2 separate regions of the Homo sapiens genome follow, and region 1 is linked to region 2. The links are contacts of gene promoters, found by promoter capture Hi-C in blood cells and fetal thymus (Javierre and others, 2016). All regions are on one chromosome and are shown on one strand. Each heading gives the region's core, a stretch centred on a gene start or on the middle of the fragment in contact. The rest is flanking DNA. Distances are from core to core; before and after follow the strand shown.

Region 1 (3,258 bases), core at 388-2,887, 2.6 Mb after region 2:
CAGGTGGCGGCGCGGGGCGGCGGGCGGGGCTGGGAAGGGGGAGGGCTCGGCGCGCGTCGGGCGGTGACGGCAGCGCGGAGGGGAGGTGCAAGCCGCCCGCTCGCGGGGGAGCCATGGCGAGAGGCCGCGCGGCGGCGCCCGCAACAGTGCCCGCGTCCGCAGCAGCGCCCCCGCCCGCCGCCCCGGGGCCCACCCGGCCGCCGCCCCCGCGCGCCCCGAGCCCTTGACGCCCGCGCGCCTCAAGCGAGGCGTCCCCCAGAGTGGGGCCGCGCGCGGGAGAGCCGGAGCGCAGCCTTAGCGTCCCCGAGAGTCTCGAACGCCCCGACGACCCCCGCGTCTCGGAACCCCGGACTCCGAGCCCAGGAGCGCCAGAGCGGCAGGCGGGCAGCAGGAGGCGGCGGCGCCAGAGCGGAGCCCCCGCGAGTGCCCCCGTGCCGCCCGGCCGGCTGCAGCGGAGGGAACCGAAGCCGCCGGGCGGCCGGGGCCGGGCCGAGAACGACGCGGAGGAAGCCCCCACCGAGGCCCCCCGGCACCGCGCCTGCTGCCGGGTTGCGCTCCGTGCACCTCTTGCGGGTAAGCCAGGGGTCCGCTCACCCGCGCCGCCTGCGCCTCGGGCCCAGGGGCTGGGGAAGGACACGGGTGTTCTGGGAGTGTCCGCGTGAGATAGTGGCGGCGTGAGAGGCCGGGCGCCGGGACCCTGCGGGGACAGCCCTCCTAATGCACCGGCCGCACCTGCAGGAGGCCCTCGGAGCCCGGAAAAGTGCCCCTAGGGCATCGTGTCGGCCACGCCGCGTGGCCTGGATTCCGCGCTCCGGCACTCCGAGGTGACAGTGAGGCGACCTTCAAAGAGCCTGGAGCTGAGCGCGGGCAGCACCCCGATTCCCACTCACCCGCAAAACTTGATGAAAATGACATCATCTGAGCGTGTCAGAGAGCAGAGAGCCTTTAGAGCCCTCCTTTGCATCCTTGAGAGTTAACAAGTTTACTTTGTCACTTTCTTGACCTGATTTTTAAAGTTCTTTTCTAGTCTCCAAGGTCAAGCTCTTGCAGGTAAAAACAAATGTAATGAACTGTATCGTTTCTTCTTTTGTAAAGTTGTGTTTCAGGAAAGATGTTAAAAGTCGGCCTGCTCTTGAGGCTGGTGCTGGGTGCCCCTTCCGCTTTAAGCTTGCCTGTTTTAGAACCCGTGGCTGCACTTGTTCAGACACTGAAATTAGCGTCCGCTTTGAGAGCCTTCAGAGTATTCGTCGTTGGACCGCTGATTTTTTTTTTTTTCTGATATGCTTCACTGGAACTTTATTTGCTTCAAAAGTGTAAACGTTGTCAATACTGTCTGTGAGTGTGTATTCGGGACTGGTAACCTTTTCTGGAGGGTCTTTTGTTTATCTGGAAGGAGAGTGGAGGTTACCATAGGGAAACGGTCTAGTTCCAGGGTCCTTTCCAATTTCCAACTACAAGAGCAGCGAAGAGGAAGGTGCTCAGACTAAGCTCTGATTAGCCCTGGAGCCAGTCTGCACTGGGGAGGGTCTCCCCAGATTGAGTGAAGGGACAACAGGCTGGGAGCTTGACTGGTAGGTTTGGAGAGTTGGACCTGGAGTGACAGATGGCGCCTTCCCCTCTGTCTCTCGGTTTGGAATGGTCATACTCGGTTGCTCTTTGATCTTGGACCTCAGCTTTGTCACAGAGGTTCCCAGCCCAGTGTAGCCTAAGCCAGCTGGAAAGCTGAGCCCGGCTCTGGGGGATGCTGAATCGGTTTAAAGCCCTTGTCTCAGGGCTGCGAGTTTGGCAACAGTTGGGTTTCAGCTTGGCCCCAGCACCAGCCGTTTCCTGTTTGATGCCCCAGGGACCAGTTTCCCATCCCCAGCGCTCGCTTGAGGGTGTCTCCACTCTGGCTGTGTTGCTTCTCCTTCTCTGTGGTCTTGGAGTGGGAAACCTGGACTGAAATTCCAACTCCTCTCTATTGGCTGTGTGACCTTACTTAACCTCTCTGTCCTGCTCTCCCCTCTCTGGGAGACAATGTTTTAAATGGAGGTGTCTGTAAAAGTTTGACTGAATGACATGGGAGCGTTTTCAGGTCTCCTTCCAACATGATTGGGTTTGTAATTTGGTAAGCTTTTTGAGCCCCAACAGGGATAATAAAGCATATAATAGTAATTATTGTTTTATAGGTTTATTATGAGGGTCAAATCAGGTAATATAAAAGAGCTTTGGGCCGGGCATGGTGACTTGTGCGTGTATTCCCAGCATTTTGGGAGGCTGAGGCAGGTGGATCACTTAAGGTCAGGAGTTCGAGACCAGCCTGGCCAACATGGTGAAACCCCGTCTCTACTAAAAATACAAAAATTAGCTGGGCATGATGATGGGCACCTGTAATCCCAGCTACTAAGGAGGGTGAGTCAGGAGAATAGCTTGAATCCGGGAGGCAGAGGTTTCATTGAGCCAAGATCCCGCCACTGCACTTCAGCCAGGGCGACAGAGCAAGACCCCATCTCAAAAACAAAAACAAAAACAAAAAACATAAAAATAAAAGGGCTTTCAAAAATAATAGAGCACTATTCACATTGAATGGAGTTCTTAAACTTTCACTTTCCAAACTAACAACACCTTAAGGTTTGCCATCTTAAGTGGACTTTGTTCCTGTCATTGCATTCTGGTTTTTTGTTTTTTTTTTTCTTTTTGAGTCAGAGTGTCGCTCTGTCATCGAGGCTAGAGTGCAGTGGTGCGATCTTGGCTCACTGCGGCCTCCACCTCACAGGTTCAAGTGATTCTTTGGCCTCAGCCTCCCGAGTAGCTGGGATTGCAGGCACCTGCCACCACGCCCAGCTAATTTTTGTATTTTTAGTAGAGACGGGGTTTCACCACTTTGGCCAGGCTGGTCTCAAACTCTTGACCTCGAGTGATCTGCTGGCCATGACCTCCCAAAGTGCTGGGATTATAGGCGCAAGCCACCACTCCCAGTCCCTGTCGTTGCATTCTGAGTCCCTGCCTCTGACCTTGTATATAGTAGGCCTCTGTAATTGTTTGGTGATTCTTGAATTAACCATCTGGGCTCTCCATCTTGACTTCGTGCTCCCAAGGTAGAGAACAGACCTTGGGCATTCTCCTCTCCGTCAGCTGTCGGAGTTTTTATAGATGCGATTGTTCTGTAGCACCATATAGCTCATAAGAGAGCCAAGGAGAGTAAGCAGATAGGTGGCCAGTTTTTCTGCAAGGGACAGTTCTTTTTTTACCCTTTGGGGCTCAAGTAAGAAAGGCATT
Region 2 (3,396 bases), core at 216-2,715:
AAGGGTTTCCAAGCTCCTCAGAAAATCATACTGGCTTCAGTGGAGCTGCAGAGCCACTTGCAGGAGAACCTGGATGTGCTGTCCTTTGGAAGAGTGGCCATAAGGGTCTACGAGTTCATTTTAGGGTGGGCTCAGAAATCAGATTGACTCAGCAGGCCCCAGAGAGGAACCTGCACTTTTTTTTTTTTTGACGGAGTCTTACTCTGTCGCCCAGGCTGGAGTGCAAGTGGCGCAATCTCCACTCACTACAACCTCTGCCTCCTGGGTTCAAGCAATTCTCCCGCCTCAGCCTCCCCAGTAGCTGGGATTACAGGCATGCCTGGCTAATTTTTGAATTTTTAGTAGATACCGGGTTTCGCCATGTTGGCCAGGCTGGTCTCTTGAACTCCTGGCCTCAAGGGATCCGCCCGCGTCAGCCTCCGAAAGTGCTGGGATTACAGCCACCGCGCCCCTTCAATTAACTCCTATTTTTTTGTTTGTTTTTTGGAGACAGAATTTCGCTCTATTGCCCAGGCTGGAGTGCAGCGGTGCAATCACATTCACTGCAGACTTGACCTCTAGGCTCAAGCTATCCTCCTGCCTCAGCCTCCTGAGTAGCTGAGACTACAGGGACGCACCATCATGATTGGTTAATTTTTGTATTTTTTGTGGAGATGGGGGTCTCCCCATGTTTCCCAGGCTAGTCTTGAACTTCTGAGCTCAGGCAATCCACCCACCTCGGCCTCCCAAAGTGCTGGGATTACAGGCACAAGCCACCGCGCCCGGCAAACTTATCTCCTACTGATGGATATTGCAAAATTTTTCTTCTACCAAAAAAAAAAAAAAAAAAAAGATAGATATAATCCATACCATCTGTTCAATCTTGTCCTTTTTAACTTTTTCAGGGAAACTTCCCCCAGGTGATAGATGGATAGATACATGAGATAGACATAACGCATACGATCAGTTCAATCTTATCTTTTTTAACTTTTTCAGAGAAAACTTCCCTTAAGTGAACATTTAAATCTGAATTACGTCCTGTTAAACTGTTCTCCAGGAAAATAAAATAAAATAAATCTTCAAGTTTTTGTTTACCTAACAATTTGTTGTGTCGAACAAACCTTCCTACTTTTCAGGTAACAAAATGGCAGCTTAGGCTAGAAAGCCGCTCATATTCGCAGGTACAAGGGCTGGGTAAGAACGCCCCGCCTGGCTGACTAACTTGAGTTCCGCGCTCTGGACAGGAATTATGCACAGGGCGTCGCTGTGGCACTAGAAACCCCAAAGTCACAAGCGCCCCAGATCCGACCAGGATGCCGCTACCGGCTACAGCCCAGAGGCCCGCTCCTGCGGCGCAAGCCCGCCTTCCTGAAGAAAAAGCCCAGTCCCGGCAGCGTTCTTCTCCGGCTCCGCCCTTCTTCCGCTCGACTTTCTTTGCCATTGGCTGACAACGGAGTACATAAGGACGTCATTTCCTGCCGCCTGTCTTTTCCGTGCTACCTGCAGAGGGGTCCATACGGCGTTGTTCTGGGTGAGTTCCGTGTAGCGTCCCTGGCGCCTTCCAGGGCTAGAAAAATGAGCTTTTCCTGCTCAAATGAAGGGTGAGAAGACTAGTGATGAAAGCCGGTCAGACTGGATCTGTCTCCCGCCCGGCGCGCCCCACCTTAGGCCTGCGGCCCGCACGTGGCCAGGCTCGGGCTGGCGGGTTCCCAGAGTGCCCCGGGAGCGGGTGGAGGCCGCCCTCCAGCGGAGGCTCCGAGCTGGGGTTCGGACCAGGCCGCGGGTGGGCGGGAGTGCAGAAAGCGGGCTAACATCCTGTGTTGCTATCCCTTCGGAGTCCCACACGGCGGTGAGTCTAGGCCCAGGCGCTGATTTACACCAGCTACTTGGGCTGGTCGGGTTTTCCCTTCGCGCCGTGCGGGTCAGGAGTTAAGGTTCTCGGGTTTTTAGACAAACAAGTGGTGACAGCACAGCGAAGTAATTCCAAAGCATCCGCCTACAATCTGCTTGAAAATGTCTGAAAACAATTCATGCCTTTTTTGCCTTTAGTTTGCATATTCCAAACATGGCTGCTCTTTTGTATCTAGTTGTTAACTTGGCGCATCCACAACTTTTCCTTAATTCCTATCTTGAGAAGTGTTGAATTTCCATTCGCTAATTTCGTGTAGTTTTATTACTCGGTTACTCTGCCGTCCACACTATTTCCTCAGTAAGATGTGCGCTGTTCCGTAATACACGACATGTATGGGTTAACTTTCTGTTTACCCTTCACTACACTGTAAGCTCAATGCCTGACACTATAGCAGATGGAGTTTTTGGTTGCTTTTAAGGGTGTGCCCTACTTAACTCAATGGAATGAAAAGAAATAGGTTGCTCTCTTATTTCAGATTCCCGTCGTAACTTAAAGGGAAATTTTCACAATGTCCGGAGCCCTTGATGTCCTGCAAATGAAGGAGGAGGATGTCCTTAAGTTCCTTGCAGCAGGAACCCACTTAGGTGGCACCAATCTTGACTTCCAGATGGAACAGTACATCTATAAAAGGAAAAGTGATGGTTAGTCATTGCTTTAATTTTTTGTTACTCCAGCTGTAAGTACAAATTTTGAGCTTGCTATTCTCGTGGTTAGTTCTGGGTAATTTCTTTCTATCTTCCTTAAATGAAGCCAGACCCCTACGTTGAAAACATACTTTAAATAAATGTTCTTGTTATTGAGAGAAAAGATTTCTGCTCCAGGGGAGGAATATGTCAGTTGTCTGAGTTACGGGACTTGGGTTGGGTCATGAACATGAGAAAGTTCATTGGCTGAGTTTCTAATAGCTCGCATAGTGCCTTCAACTTCATAGGTACTTACACAGGCTATTGAACTGAATTTTGAGTGGAAAGTGGGGTAAGAGGTGGGAATGAACAATATGGTTTGGAAGAACCAGAGGATGGAAGGCATTAAGTTGGCTAAGGCACTTACTTATTTTAGAGATAAAGCTACCAAGGACTTGGGAGTGACATGCTGTAAAGGAGTTTTAGGATGAATCTTGCATCAGTGCAGATTATAAAAGGGAAAGAGTGGCAGAAAGCCAGGAAGTGGATTATTAAGAACCAATGATGGAATAAGTACAGGGAAAGAGAAAGGAAAGATGGATTTAGCCAACTGAATCTAGGCTGCACACTATTAAAGCTCAGGGTGGAGGCCAGTCTTGGCTCATGAACTTCTGAGTGTCGGAAGTGTGCTATATCAATGGCAGGATTTTCGCTAACACCAGTAGAGCTTGCCTCTATGACTGGAGTTTGGTAGTACTCGCTGCCACATAGAGTAAACTTGAGAAGAATGTTTGCACAGCCAGGTCAAGTGTTACAAATCCTTCTGCCCTCACTTAGGCATCTATATCATAAATCTCAAGAGGACCTGGGAGAAGCTTCTGC

The links. Contacts are between HindIII fragments. The CHiCAGO score rates a contact against its expected background, and 5 or more counts as called.
Region 1: a fragment that was not itself captured here is called in contact with the fragment with the promoter of RPSA in region 2 in 3 of 17 cell types (activated CD4 T cells, naive CD8 T cells and non-activated CD4 T cells); the score reaches 6.7 in activated CD4 T cells.

The regions. Positions count from the first base shown.
Region 1 is chr3:42,013,545-42,016,802 of GRCh38, forward strand. LOC107986077 (a long non-coding RNA gene) reads right to left here and starts at 25. Exons shown (of 2, transcript XR_001740668.2): 1 at 1-25. It also overlaps a transcript of TRAK1 not described here. RefSeq lists silencers at 1-77, 168-237, 278-437, 498-567 and enhancers at 758-897, 1,291-1,792. The HindIII fragment of the contact is 945 bases long and covers 1,166-2,110 here.
Region 2 is chr3:39,405,255-39,408,650 of GRCh38, forward strand. RPSA (ribosomal protein SA) reads left to right here and starts at 1,466. Exons shown (of 7, transcript NM_002295.6): 1 at 1,466-1,510; 2 at 2,367-2,532; 3 at 3,352-3,396. The coding sequence starts at 2,400. It overlaps SNORA6 (small nucleolar RNA, H/ACA box 6), which reads left to right and starts at 3,137; the gene lies at 3,137-3,285. RefSeq lists enhancers at 1,187-1,978, 1,360-1,499 and silencers at 1,670-1,849, 3,245-3,294. The HindIII fragment of the contact is 4,276 bases long and covers 1-3,387 here.